Linked DNA regions of Homo sapiens: regions 1, 3, 4 and 5 are each linked to region 2. Evidence: promoter capture Hi-C in 16 types of primary human blood cells and fetal thymus (Javierre and others, 2016). All regions are on one chromosome and are shown on one strand. Each heading gives the region's core, a stretch centred on a gene start or on the middle of the fragment in contact. The rest is flanking DNA. Distances are from core to core; before and after follow the strand shown.

Region 1 (2,703 bases), core at 29-2,528, 180 kb after region 2:
AAGTCACTGATATCTTGTTAAAATTTGGATTCTGATTCTGTAGGTCTGGGATGGGGCCCAGATTCTGCATTTCAAACGAAGTCTCAGCTAATGGTCCAAGGACCAGACTTTGGATTGCAGAGACTTAAGTTGTAATACAATAATAAAAGTGTTATAGTTAAGGTAAAAACAGGTGCTGTGGGAGAATAGAGATGATAACTAATTGCCTGTGGAACTCCTTCTTGATGACAGTGACATTTGAGGTAGGCCTTGAAGGGAATTTTACCTGGGGCTAGGAGAGGGGTGCGGGGCATTCCATGCACAGGGGATAATCTAAACAAAGGCCATGTTTGAGGCAGGATGGAAGCCAACACTTGACGAAAGCTAGCTGTGTGCCAGGCATTGTGCTTGTTGCCTTTACCCTCCACAACTGGCAAATAATAGTTCAGTATCACAAATAACAAGTTCACAGATGGATAGAAGGATGGCAGGAAGTGGGTCAGTAAGGGTGGACTGGAACCAAATTGTGAAGAGGATTATGAGTCCCAGCTCAAGCGTTTGTATTTTGCTCTACAAGTGGGAGATGCTCGCTTATGTGTATGCATGTGTAATAAAGAGGTTTTTAAACCTCCCTCATAGAAGCAAGTAATGGCTAAGTAGAAACAAGCACGTTTATGGTGCTCAGTAATAACTATATAGTATTTAAGTATTGTTTTTATTTTGTTCCCTCTTAGCTTTGTGTCTGTTAAAATGCCATATTTTTCATTGTTCTTTTTAAATTTAAAATAAAATTTATTTTTTTGAGACAGAGTCTCACTCCCACCCAGGCTGGAGTGCAGAGGCACAATCTCAGCTCACTGCAACCTCTGCCTCCCAAGTTCAAGCGATTCTCCTGCCTCAGCCTCCAGAGTAGCTGGGATTACAGGTGCTTACCACCATGCCTGCCTAATTTTTGTATTTTTAATAGAGACAAGGTCTCGCCATGTTGGCCAAGCTGGTCTCCAAATCCTGACCTCAAGTGATCTGCCTGCCTCGGCCTCCCAAAGTGCTGGGATTACAGGCATGAGCCACCACACCAAGCCTGATTTATTTTTTAAGTGATATATCAATATTGTAAAATAGGTATGCAAGAGCATATTTAGGCTGGGCACAATGGCTCTTGCCTGTACGAGCACTTTGGGAGGCCAAGGTGGGAGGATGGCTTGAGGTCAGGAGTTTAGACTAGCCAGACAACCCTGTCTTTATGAAAAAAAGAGCCAGGTGTGGTGGTGTGTGCCTGTAGTCCTAGCTATCTGCGAGGCTGAGGTGGGAGTTTCCCAATTCCCTTCCCTGAAGGCAACCAATATTGAATGTTTCTAGTGTATCTTTCCAAAAATACTATGCCTGTGTGAGTGTGGTGGGTAGGTATCCTCAAAGACAGCCCCCAGTGCTCCCACCTCTGGTATTCTTGCCCTTGTGTACTCCCCTCTCCTTCCAGATGGGCTGGACTGACAGATATACTTCTTTTTTTTTTTTTTTTTGAGACAGAGTCTCGCTCTGTCACCAGGCTGGAGTGCAGTGGCGTGATCTTGGCTCACTGCAATCTCCACCTCCCGGCTTCAAGCGATTCTCCTGCCTCAGCCTCCCGAGTAGCTGGGACTACAGACATGTGCCACCACGCTCAGCTAATTTTTGTATTTTTTAGTTAGAGACAGGGTTTCACCATGTTGGCCAAGATGGTCTCGATCTCTTGACCTTGTGATCTGCCCCCCTTGGTCTCCCAAAGTGCTGGGATTACAGGCGTGAGCCACCGCGCCCGGCCACAGATATACTTCTGATGAATAAAATACTACCCAAGTGGTAGGATGTCACTTCTGAAATAGGTAAAAAAGACTGCAGCTTCCATCTTGGGTGCTCTCTCTCTCTCTCTCTCTGGGATCACCCACCCTGGGGAAAGGCAGCTGCGATGCTGTGAGGCAGCCATGTGGAGAGGCTCATGTGAGAGACCAATGCCTGCCAACAACCATGTGACTGAACTTGGAAACAGATCCTCCCTCCCACAGTTGAACCTTCTGATGGGTCCACAGCCCCTGCTGACAGCTTGACTACAGCCTCTTGAAGACCCGACCCAAAGGCAGCCAGCTAAGCAGTGCCCGGATTCCTGATCCATGTAAACTGGGATAATAAATGTTTTAAATCACTAAGTTTGGGGGCCATTTGTTCCACAGCGATAGATAATCACTACAACAAAAAAACCTCCCTTCATTTTTATATAAATGCTAACATACCATATACCCACTTTTGCACCTTGTTCTTTCTTACCGTATCTTGGAGTTCATTCTATATAAAGAGCTTCCTTACATTGTTTTAAACAGTTGCATAGATTTCTGTTGTGTGGGTAAACCATAATTTACTTAAAATAGCTCCTTAGGGTGGACATTTGTTTCCAAAGTCTTAATACCTATTGGTTTTTATAGTAGCAACCCGCCTGTACTCCCACTCTTGTTCATTAGGCCTCCCCTCCACCACCTGGAATTTTCCATTTAGCTAACCCCATCACCTTCCAACAACAAAAAATAAATTGTCAGTATTTTTTACTAGAATCACTAAATTGATAAACGAATTCAGGGAGAGTCACCACACTGGGAATACTTCTGGTGCTCCTCCTTTATGTATGCCACTGGCTTATGGATGAAGACACCAATGTGAGTTCTGTTCTGTTTTCCCTCAGCTGGGTCAGAACCC
Region 2 (2,833 bases), core at 30-2,529:
CCCGGGTGAGAGAGGGAGACCCCGTCTCTAAAAATAAAATGTAAAATCACTGAAAAAATGAGTGTTCGGTGAAACAAGTGGGATTTTCTGGGCCAGCAAGTCTTCCAAACTGTATATGATGCATCCTGTCTCCATGTGTAATATATTTTAATGATAAATGTATTTTTAACAGTGGCGGTTGTGTATGTTTTTATGTCTTAAGAGATGGCAGTTCGCTGCAGCTGGATTTTGTGGCTCAAGCCTTGGGGCCAAAGAGACATATTCCTGGCAGTCTGGTGGGTACCAGTCACTATTCACATACTTCCAGCAAGAAATGGTTATGGCACTGACCTGAACCCCTTGACCCCTGGTCTGGTCTTTGGAGTTGTCCCACTCTGAATATTCGAGAGAAGCAGCTTATGGTTAAAACAGGCAGTGGCAGCTGGGAGGATCTAACAGCTAGATCCTCCAGGCATTTGGAAAGGACAGGGGCATAACGAAGGCAGAATCGCTTCCTGGGTACGAATGCCCACTACTTCTGGGCACTGTGAAATGGGTTTAAGACGCGGGCCAGCAGGACAATGTGAACGGTGAAAGGAAGGGAGTGGCCGGTAGGTGGCGCTAACTGGCCCGGGCATGAGTCCCGCCGTAGCCGCGTCCTCTTGCAGGGGAAGAAAGTTGGGACCGCCAGCCTGGGCAAGCGCGTGAGAAGGGAGCTGGGGGTCCTAGGCAAGCGCGTGAGAAGGGGAAGAGGCGGCGGCGTCCTCTCCAGCTGGGCTTAGAATACTCTTAGTTCTGCCTTTGGGGTCTTGTCTTCCTTTCTGGGCCTCCTGCCTGTGTTAACTTTGATGGGTGCTGAAGGGAAGGCCGGGGTCCCGGCAGGAGAAACCCGGGAACGTCGCGGCCGTCCAGGCTCCCCTGGCGGGTTGGAGCCAGGGTTCTGACTGCCAACTGTGGTCCTTCCCGCTGCGGCTGTGGCTGCCAGGGCGAGGGCGGTCAGCGCAAACCTGGCTGAGGACATTTCGGATTCTTCCTTGGGGATTCGTTCCCTTCTCCTTGACTCCGGTGCCGCGAGGGCGACACCCTCCGGGCCCCGCGTGGCCACCCCGGGCGCTTCCCCACGCGGATGAACCCACCTCCTGGGCGCCTTCCCCTCGGTGCCCCGCTCGCCAATTGGAGGCTGCAGCTCAGCCCCCTGACAACCTGAGCCAACCAGAGGCGCCAGGGAGGGGCGGATCCTCTGTCCCCACCTTCCTCCGGAAAGAGGAAGCGGAAGTGACGTTAGGGGAAGGTGGGGGCAATCATGGTGCCGCTGGGGAGGGGAGAAGCTGCTGCTGCCGCCGTTGCCGGGAGCCGCGGAGGTAAAAGGCGAAACTAGACTCGGCCTGGGCTTGGGACTTACCGGGAGGCGCGGGACTTAGGCTCCCTCCTGAAGCATTTCCCAATAGAGACCTCAGTTTGGTCACCATAGGGACCCCACCCCTTCTCCGTTTCCATGGGGATGGGTATCCAGCCCCCCTTCCCTGTTTCCATGGAGACCCGGACCCTGCCCCTCTCCTCCTTGCTTGGAGACCCCCAGCTTGTCTTCGGATTTTTCTGTGTAGCCCTGTGCTGGGGGCTATCCCAGACAGGTTCCTTTTCCCAGCCTCCTCTCAAGGGGGCTCTGTTCGCACTCCTCGTTGGCTACCCTCAAACCTCCTGGTCTTGTTTGTTTCGGACAGTTGGTCTCCGCGTTGCCGCCGAGGGTGCCGGGGCAGCCCACTGGGGCCCTCGGTGCTCTTCTCTCTCTGCTCAGATGCAGCGAAATGTACATCTGTGGGGTTGCGTAAGCCAGAGCTAGGGGTCGGGCCGGTACCTCCCGGATCCAATCCTTTGGCCTGTCTCTGGTAACTGTCTAGCCATCCCACTAAGTAAAGGCTCACTTTCTAACCCAGAGCAGAAGAGAAAGATAAAGCGCAAAGCCAGACTGAAAACTAAAAGGGATGTGCTGATTATTTTAAAATTCTCTATTCTGCCTGCCAAACCCACATTTGTAGAGCCTGTGTTTGCAGATGAAGGAAGAATCACTATTCCAGAACATGAAAGCTTCAAATGTGGTATTTTTCTCAAGAGAATGTATCTTCCCAAGATAGTATATCTTCACGAGAGAGTAGGTAGCCATGTCTTTCAGTCATTTAGCTGACATTTCCTGAACTCTTATCATAGTATCAGTGTACTATGCTAGGAGCTGTAGAAACAAAAATAATAAGACTCAATTGATTCAGGGACGAGAGCCCACCACAGAACCATAACTTCTTGTTGACACCATATTGTTTTAGGACATAAATAGATACAGTGATCTTCGTTGTTTGTGCCTGATTGAGGAATAGCCCTTCCACCCAGAAGGTTGAAACATCTGTTCTAGGTAGGGGGGAAGGAATTCATACTTGTTCCTCTACTATTTACCAAACATTGTGCTTTACATATGTTGCCTCTTTTATTTCTTATAAAAACTTTGAGAGAACAGGAATTACTGGTCCCACCTTGCACGTAAGAAAAATGAGGCACAGAAAAGTTACCCATGTAGTAAAAGGCAAAGACAGGATTTGTAGGTAGATGACTCTGCCTCCAAAGCCTTGCTCCTTCTACCATAAACTGCATGAAACCATTTACTGCCTCGTGGTCTGATTTGGAGGATATTTGAATGGATGGAGTTTCCCTTAAGATTTGTAGCAACTCAGCCTTTCAGCAGCTGCTGTTCTGTTTGCTCTTTTGTCCCCTTTAAATATTTTGACCAAGTTTCAAATTGTTTGACAGGCGTATTCAGAAGGTCTTATGAACTTATTCAGTTTTTGAAAAGCATTGCTTTTCTTTC
Region 3 (2,775 bases), core at 174-2,673, 160 kb before region 2:
TCGAAACCCGTCATTTACAAACGCAGAAAAATGAGGCCCAGAGAAGAAGTGGTCCAAGGACACACAGCTCACCTGGAGCAGAGTCAGGACCGTCCCCCTCTCACAAATCCCAGGAATCTTTCCACTACTACACTAAGCTGCTTCAACCTTTGTGTGAGTGCCACAGTCACCTGAGATGATGGCAGGAATGAATCAGTGTTGGAAACCCTATACAAAGTGAATGGAGAGCAACAGAAGAGTCGGCAACAGAAGGGTCCCCAGGCAGTGTGCTGGTGCCTGAAAATCTTACCACTCAGAAAGCAGAAGAATTTTTTCAGCAGAAGCTCACCTGAGAATTCTCACTGCTAATGACTCCTCAAAGATCAGTGGGGTCCTTACATTTTGGGGAATCATCAACCTCAGAGAAACTGATGAAAGCTTTGGGATCTTTCTTCTTTTTTTTTTTTTTCTGAGGCGGAGTCTTGCTCTGTCGCCCAGGCTGGAGTGCAGTGGCACTATCTCGGCTCGCTACAACCTCCGCCTCCTGGGTTCAAGCAATTCTGCTGCCTCAGCCTCCCTAGTAGCTGGGATTACAGGTGCCCGCCACCACGCCTGGCTAATTTTTGTATTTTTAGTAGAGACAGGGTTTCACTACATTGGCCAGGCTAGTCTCGAACTCCTGACCTCAAGTGATCCACCTGCCTTGGCCTCCCAAATTGCTGGGACTACAGGCATGAGCCACCACGCCCAGCATGGGATGTTTCTTGAGATAAATGTACATACACATTTGTAAAAGGTTGTGCAAGCACATATACCTATCTGCACAAAATACCAGTGAGAAAGGGGGGTTTTCTCAGACCTCCTAAAGCTCACTCATGGGTTGTCTACCCACTCGAAGTTACAGACAAAATATCCTTGCAATCCACCCACCAGCAGTCTCTTAATAAAAATGATTTTGCAGTAAACAAAATAGAAAGAAACATAATTACTAGACAAAAATGGCAAAAATCTAAACCTCCCTAACTTCTCAAAAGCTATGCTGGTGAACTATTCTACATGGGAATTTGGAATACTAATCTCTTTAGGGACTACCACAATTCTTGAGAAGCGTCAGTGACACGGCTAATTGAAAGTACACCTAATTGCCGGGCGCGGTAGCTCACGCCTGTAATCCCTGCACTTTGGGAGGCTGAGGTGGGTGGATCACAAGGTCAGGAGTTCAAGACCAGCCTAGCCAAAATGGTGAAACCCTGTCTCTACTAAATATACAAAAAATTAGCCAGGCGTGGTGGCGGGCACCTGTAATCCCAGCTACTCGGGAGGCTGAGGCAAGAGAATTGCTTGAACCCAGGAGGCAGAGGTTGCAGTGAGCCGATATCACGCCACCGCACTCCAGCCTGGGTGACAGAGTGAGACTCCGTCTCAAAAAAAAAAAAAAGTACACCTAATTGACAAACAACAGGGTTATCACAAGAACACTCATGAGCAAGCTCTTTGGCTGGAAGTGTTATCTACAGAAGGAAATATTACTGGGCCTTAGACTTCAACAATTCACAGATTCTAGCACAGTCTCACAGCAGTGGTTTCAGACAGCTTTTGTTTTCGCTTTATTGCACAGACTGTCAGATTTATGGGATTACCCAATATAGTCAAACTAATTAGGGGTATTTATATTACTAAAGCAAGTTTAGCTGCCTCTGAGCTAGAGAAAACTGCTGTGAAATTAAACATTGGAAGCAAAACTGATGCAGTGTAAATGATTCAAATCAAAACAGAACAGCTGTCTGCTTGAAACACATTGACAGCATTTTTTTTTAATGAATCAGTCAGAAGAGTTCAACTCCAGAAGGCTTTCAGGAAAAGCATGTCTTCTGCACAACCCAGTTACAGTGACGGAAAGCACCATAAGGAAAAGCCAAAACAAAATTTTTGTTACAATACACAATATGAAAGACCTTTTGGGCAGGCATGGTGGCTCACGCCTGTAATCCCAACACTTCAGGAGGCCAAGGCGGGAGTAAACACTTGAGCTCAGGAGTTTAAGACCAGCCTGGGCAACTTAGCGAGACCCCGTTTCTACAAAAAAAATTTAAAATTAGCTAGGCATGGTGGCACACACCTGTGGTCCCAGCTACCCAGGAGGCTGAGGCAGGAGGATCGCTTAAGCCCAGAAGGTGGAGACTGCAGTGAGCCATAATCACACCATTGCACTCCAGCCTGGGTGACAGTGAGACCCTGTCTCAAGAAAAATAAAAACACAGAAAGACCTTTTGATGTGCGTATTCACTGCTAAAGGTTCAATATTAAAGTATTGCAAATCCTTTAATCTTCAGCAATCCCTTTCTCTGCATTTTCAAAACACTGGCATCTGTTACAAGTATTAAAAGCACAAAGCGCAGGGTCAGAATTGGGATTCAAACCCAGGTCTAAAGGCCAGAACCTAAGCTTCTGACCACTATACCTCCTCCGATCATAGAAATTAGGAAGCCCTTCTCCACTTCCATCCCATCATCAAATCATCCTACAAATCCACTTTTCTAAGGGAACTCATGAGTTTTCCATAAATAAATAATTATTTTAGGCCAGGCACAGTGGCTCACGCTTGTAATCCCGACACTTTGGGAGGCCAAGGCAGGCAGATCAACTGAGGTCAGGAGTTCAAGACCAGCCTGGCCAACATGGCGAAACCCCATCTCTATGAAAAATACAGAAATAAGCTGGGTGTGGTGTTGCACCCCTATAGTCCCAGTTACTGGGGAGGCTGAGGCATGAGAATTGCTTGAACCCAGGAGGCGG
Region 4 (3,081 bases), core at 89-2,588, 140 kb before region 2:
TGCTGGCAAAACCTGACATCTGGCCATCTGTGCCGCCACAGCTGCTGCAGATGTTACAGGCCAAGGCTGTCCAAGCTGGTGTGACACAGCGGGGGTGGGGGGATGAGGGCAGAGGGTCTAGCTAGGGAAGACTGGCTGTGTCCAGCTTGCAGGATTTCCTTCCTGCTTGAACCTAAGCTGAGCCTCTGAAGTTCCCATTGCTTGGCTGATTCCCCGGGAGGGAAGGCCCAACCTCTCACACTGGCCTCTTCTACCATTCATTAGTCCAGCACCTCTCTAGCATTCCACTGTTTTCTGGATCAGGAGGGGCAGGCACAGCCCATTCCCGTCTCTAAGTTCTGTACTCCAGAGCTCTGGTTAAGGGTTCCTTTATCCATATTCCTAAAGTCCCTTCCTGGGAGTCAGGAGAGGGTGGGAGTACTGCTCATAAGGAGTAGAGTGGGGTGGCTCCCTGCCCCTGCTTCTCCCACGCTGGGGACAGTCGGGACAGTGGAGGCTAGACGCTGGCTGGGACAGGAAATGAGTCACTGACCCAGGAAAAGCCCCCTCCCCCTAGATCTGCTAGGGCCTAGATAAGAAAACAACTTCTGCTTCCTGGTTTTTTTCCTGACCTCTTCCTACCCCGAGTTAAATACAGAAAGAAACATGTGGGATTCCTGGTTTCCCAGAAGCACCCCTTCCCCATCCCCACCTACTCTGAACTGGCATTTCCTATGCCGGGTCTCTTGGCTGTGTTTTGAATGCAGAGGCCTCTTTGCCAGGAGCCAAGCCACAGCCTCTCTGTGTGACCCCAGTTCCACCTTGTGCTCCTAACAGGGTTCTCTCCCCTTGCCACCATGAGCGAGTCATTTGACTGTGCAAAATGCAACGAGTCCCTGTATGGACGCAAGTACATCCAGACAGACAGCGGCCCCTACTGTGTGCCCTGCTATGACAATACCTTTGCCAACACCTGTGCTGAGTGCCAGCAGCTTATCGGGCATGACTCGAGGGTAAGGAGAGGGCCAGGCCAGGCAGGAGGTGGGTGGTGACCAGTGGAAGGGGGCAAAGGATGGGTCCATGAGGCCTGGGTGCCAGTGCCCCTGCTGTGTTCCCCACAGGAGCTGTTCTATGAAGACCGCCATTTCCACGAGGGCTGCTTCCGCTGCTGCCGCTGCCAGCGCTCACTAGCCGATGAACCCTTCACCTGCCAGGACAGTGAGCTGCTCTGCAATGACTGCTACTGCAGTGCGTTTTCCTCGCAGTGCTCCGCTTGTGGGGAGACTGTCATGCCTGGTATGTGTTCAGGGGCTCATCTTGTGTGAGAACTGGCATCTGCGTAGGGTCTTTGCATGTGTCTGTCTGATACATGGAGACTTGGTCTGTGTAAAGACCTGCATACACAGCATGTTTCTGGAAATTTAGTATATACGGGATCTGTTTGCCTGGTATACTCCTGGGGGCTACTATGTACAGGCAGATTGACACATGTGATACATACTTGGGGGCTTAGCATGTGTGAATATCTGCATGTTTAGTACAGGTAGGAACTAGAGGTGTGCTGAGACTGTCATGCTTGTTGCATTGGGTCTTAATGTATGCAGAAGCAGATAAACAGAGGGCTTAACATGTGTGGGGACCTGCATGCCTAATAGAAATGCTGGGACTCAGCACCTATGGAGAATGGTGTGCCGAGGAGATGCGAGGGCTTAGCATGTACCGAACCTGTCATGCCCAGGGCATTAGAACTTTGTGTGGGCAGATACTTACTTGCCTGGTACATGTGGGGTCCCATGTGAGTGCTAAAATCATCACATCTGTTATATGAGGGCTTAGCTCTTAGTGAGACTTCATGACTGTTACATGGAGGCTTGATGTGTGCTGAAATTGTCATCTCTGGGACATATGGGGGCTTAACATAGGCCAAAACCCTCGTGTCTAGCTGGGTCATCATGTCCGGTGTCTGGGGAGAGGTTAGCATGTGTAATATACATAGGGCGGGGGGGTTCTTGCTGCATGTGCACGGACACCACCCTGCTCACGCTGAGAGAGGAGTGGAGACTCCTGGGGAAGTTACAGAGGGTGGCCCTCAGGAGCATGGGACACAACCTCTAAATGGGACCCCTGTTCCCCACAGGGTCCCGGAAGCTGGAATATGGAGGCCAGACATGGCATGAGCACTGCTTCCTGTGCAGTGGCTGTGAACAGCCACTGGGCTCCCGTTCTTTTGTGCCCGACAAGGGTGCTCACTACTGCGTGCCCTGCTATGAGAACAAGTTTGCTCCTCGCTGCGCCCGCTGCAGCAAGGTGGGGGCTGGGCCAGCCAGGTGGGGGTGAGTGAGGCCTGTTGTGGGGTGGGAATCCCCACTCATACCTACTAATGGATGCTGCCCCCACAGACGCTGACACAGGGTGGAGTGACATACCGTGATCAGCCGTGGCATCGAGAATGTCTGGTCTGTACCGGATGCCAGACGCCCCTGGCAGGGCAGCAGTTCACCTCCCGGGATGAAGATCCCTACTGTGTGGCCTGTTTTGGAGAACTCTTTGCACCTAAGTGCAGCAGCTGCAAGCGCCCCATCGTAGGTGGGACAAGGGTCAAAGAACGGAGTGGGTAGGGTGCAGGCAAGGGAGTGGGATGTGGTATTGGGTGAGGTTGAGGGCCGGACCATCCCCACATCTGCATAGCTAACTTCCAGCCTCCCTCCAGGACTCGGTGGAGGCAAGTATGTGTCCTTTGAAGACCGACACTGGCACCACAACTGCTTCTCCTGCGCCCGCTGCTCTACCTCCCTGGTGGGCCAGGGCTTCGTACCGGATGGAGACCAAGTGCTCTGCCAGGGCTGTAGCCAGGCAGGGCCCTAAGCCAGGGCTCCTGGACCCAGGCTTTCCCATACCACGGGCCCAGGACTGTGGCTCCTTTTCTAAACCACCTCTGGGACTCAGCTCCCCCCGCCAAAAAAAATGGGTCTCCTTCTGGGCTCCAGGATTGTCTCCCCACTCCAGCATCCCCAAACTGGTACTCCCTGACCCAGGGCCCCAAACCTGGGCTCTTACAGAGCCTCCATGAGTCAAGCCCCCTCCCCACACCTGGACTCCAGA
Region 5 (2,876 bases), core at 182-2,681, 160 kb after region 2:
CTATGATGATCCTGGGTCCTTCAAAAAGGCTTCCAGTCACCATTCAAATTCGTTTTTTTTTCATATGGTAATAAGTATGGGCACTACAAAGAGCAGTCATGATTCACAGTCCTTTCCTTATAGAACACATGTAAACATCAGAATAATTACTACAGGTTTGGAATGGCACAGGTTTCATTTCTGGTAGGGACTGCTTGACATACTCAGAGAAGGATTCTGAGGCTGTCTTAGGCTTAGCAAGAAATAGGGCTGTAATAAGTTACTGATGTTTGCCAGGCTTGATGCAACAGAAAGTAGGGGCATTCCTGCCAACCTTCTGCCATCTCTAGAAACAACTGGCATTTTATGGAGTCATCAGTGGTGGCAGGCCACTGGGCATCTACTGTGCAGGACAGTTAACAGAGCAGGCCTGAGACTGATACACATAGAAAGGCCTGTTTGCAAGCCTGGCCTCGGTTGGCATCTGGGAACTTGATTTCAGAAAGATTCCCACCTTTCCTTAACAAGATGCCTCACTGTGCCTAAACTTTATGCAAACAATATGGCTCATGCTGAACACCTACTTCCCTCCTGAAAGTCTAGGATTTTGACATGTGCTAGGCAGAGGATGCCTATGTGAGCAGCCCCCAGTTAAAACTCTGGGCATTGACTCTCTAATCAGATTTTCTGGTAGACAGCATTTCATATGTGTTGAATTAAGCATGTTCTGTTTGACTCTACAGGGAGTGGACTCCTAGAAGCCTGGTTTCCTCTGGACTTTGTCCTATGCAATTTTCTCCTTTGTTGATTAATGCTTTGTATACTTTCACTGTAATAAATCATCGCCATGGGTGTGACTGTATGCTGAGCCCCATGAATCCTCCTAGTGAATCACCAAACCTGGAGGTGGTCTTGGGAGCCCCAACACACTTCCCAACTAAGAGCTTTTATAGATTTTCTATCGTTCCTTTCTGGAGTTTTAAATCATATTAGTCAAGGCTAGAATTCTCTCAACTTGGTGTGGTAACAATGGCTCTCTCATATTACATTAGAAGTTCTCATTTGCAGTTCTGTATTTCTAATTTAAAAAGAGAGAACTGCATTAGCTAGTAAGCATAATTCATCTCAGAGGTAACTCTTTTAAAACATTGGAGCTCAGTGTATGTAGGGGGGTGAATAATCCCCACCTCTCTCCCAAATGCTCCAATTTTTTCCAAATTGATAATTGGCTCCTCATTACCTTTACCTTCTGAATGAAGCTGGCGGAGATCTGCTATGTGCCCTTGGTGGTCAGACTCCTTCAAACCCTGATATTCCAAATGATTCTGATCAACTCAACAAAAGATGTAATTTTGGGGTTTACTTTGTAAATCTGATCAAGGCTACAATAAACTAACAGAAAGATACACAAATGCGTGCATACACACGCATTGTTTGTATATTATTTTAGAGTGCCTAGGGACTCTGTGAAGCCCATGTATGGACTAGTTCCCAATGCTGTCTCATAAAACTTTCTGCAAGAGTAGCAATGTTCTATTTCTGTGCTCTCTGATGGAGTAGCTACTAGTCATATGTAGGTATTGAACATGTAAAATGTGGCTAGTATGTCTGAGGAAATGAATTCTTTAATTTTATTAATTGTAATTAACTGAAATAGCTACATATGCCCAGTGGCTACTACACTGGACAGTGCAGCTTTAAATGCTCTATTTTGCATCCCCATCTTACTGCCTTCAATCCTGGCACTGATGCTGGGAGGAAGGAGATGAGAGGGGTTGGGGAATACTGAGCATCCCAAGCAAAAGCACTGCTTCTACAGTACGACATGATGAAACACCTTTATCATCTAGCAGGCCAATGCATAGTGTAATGACTCAGGCGCTTAAAGGAACTTGGGCTTGAGGCTTTCTACTTCCGCTGTAGAGTTCAGAACAAAGGACTGCAAGAAATTGGTCAAAAACAGAACTGCCACCTTCTGTAGGGCTCAGAACTATCTGGGTCTCATGTATACAGTGTCTGGTCCAACTCTAATTTTTCAGTTGACACAAACAGATGATGTCCCTTTATGAAACCTCTTCCACAGTAAGCATCTATTAGTTGGATCTGGGGACTGGACTAGACTTAAGTAACCACTGGCTGGAAAATAGGAAAGGTCACTTACTGTTGCCGCCTCTTCCAGGGCCTGTTTGTTTCCTCCAAGGGCTTTAAAAAGAACGTTGTAGTTACTATTACATTTTAACAATAAATCATCTTGCCTAATAGTACCATTTATCTTTCTAAAACTGGTCCAGCCCTTGGTCTAACCTTCAAGGACCTTCACCATCTAATCTATTCTTTCTCCAAGTTATATCCCAAATGTGCCACTGACTCTCATGACTTGTTGCCATGGTACTTTGTATTTCCTCTGCCTGAAATTCACCTCCGTACTTAACAAATTTCTAACTCATCCTTCAAAACTCAGCTCAAACATCACCCCAAAAATTCTGCTTATTTTTCTTTTTAAAAAATATATTTTAAATTTTATTTATTTTTGAGACAGAGTCTTGCTCTGTCACCCAAGCTGGAGTGGAGTGGCGCCTCCTTGGCTGTCTCCTGGGCTCAACTGATCCTCCCACCTTGGCCTCCCAAGTAGCTGGGACTACAGGCATGCGCCACCACATTCGGCTAATTTTTGTGTTTTTTTGTAGAGATAGGGTTTCGCCAAGTTGTCCAGGTTGTCTTTTTTTTTTTTTTTTTTTTTTTTAAGTAGAGATGTGGTCTCCTGCTATGTTGCCCAGGCTGGTTTTGAACTCCTGGGGTCAAGTGATACTCCTGCCTTGGCCTCCCAAAGTGCTAGGATTATAGGCATGAATCCCCACCCTATGCCCTGCCCTCTGCTTATTTTTCTTTTTTAAAAA

Evidence for each region. Contacts are between HindIII fragments. The CHiCAGO score rates a contact against its expected background, and 5 or more counts as called.
Region 1: a fragment that was not itself captured here is called in contact with the fragment with the promoter of MTF1 in region 2 in 1 of 17 cell types (M2 macrophages); the score reaches 5.1 in M2 macrophages.
Region 3: a contact is called between a fragment that was not itself captured here and the fragment with the promoter of MTF1 in region 2, in 1 of 17 cell types (fetal thymus). The highest score is 5.5, in fetal thymus.
Region 4: a contact is called between a fragment that was not itself captured here and the fragment with the promoter of MTF1 in region 2, in 2 of 17 cell types (fetal thymus and neutrophils). The highest score is 8.2, in fetal thymus.
Region 5: a contact is called between a fragment that was not itself captured here and the fragment with the promoter of MTF1 in region 2, in 10 of 17 cell types (M1 macrophages, M2 macrophages, fetal thymus and 7 more). The highest score is 8.6, in M1 macrophages.

The regions. Positions count from the first base shown.
Region 1 is chr1:37,678,770-37,681,472 of GRCh38, reverse strand. No RefSeq gene overlaps it. Among named protein-coding and RNA genes, the nearest start is that of AIRIM, 10 kb to the left of the region's middle. The HindIII fragment of the contact is 3,960 bases long and covers 1-2,703 here.
Region 2 is chr1:37,858,038-37,860,870 of GRCh38, reverse strand. It overlaps MTF1 (metal regulatory transcription factor 1), which reads left to right and starts at 1,279. Exons shown (of 11, transcript NM_005955.3): 1 at 1,279-1,340. INPP5B (inositol polyphosphate-5-phosphatase B) reads left to right here. Exons shown (of 24, transcript NM_005540.3): 24 at 1-174. RefSeq lists a silencer at 1,013-1,342. The HindIII fragment of the contact is 3,574 bases long and covers 1-2,066 here.
Region 3 is chr1:38,019,568-38,022,342 of GRCh38, reverse strand. The region is part of intron 6 of UTP11 (UTP11 small subunit processome component); the gene reads right to left. Among named protein-coding and RNA genes, the nearest start is that of UTP11, 8.2 kb to the right of the region's middle. The HindIII fragment of the contact is 2,007 bases long and covers 420-2,426 here.
Region 4 is chr1:37,997,168-38,000,248 of GRCh38, reverse strand. It overlaps FHL3 (four and a half LIM domains 3), which reads left to right. Exons shown (of 6, transcript NM_004468.5): 2 at 817-992; 3 at 1,101-1,275; 4 at 2,117-2,286; 5 at 2,379-2,565; 6 at 2,690-3,081. The coding sequence starts at 837. The coding sequence ends at 2,844. Among named protein-coding and RNA genes, the nearest start is that of FHL3, 6.8 kb to the left of the region's middle. RefSeq lists enhancers at 1-750, 1,840-2,761. The HindIII fragment of the contact is 9,250 bases long and covers 1-3,081 here.
Region 5 is chr1:37,695,215-37,698,090 of GRCh38, reverse strand. CDCA8 (cell division cycle associated 8) reads right to left here. Exons shown (of 10, transcript NM_001256875.2): 3 at 2,141-2,181. Among named protein-coding and RNA genes, the nearest start is that of CDCA8, 4.1 kb to the right of the region's middle. The HindIII fragment of the contact is 2,946 bases long and covers 1-2,876 here.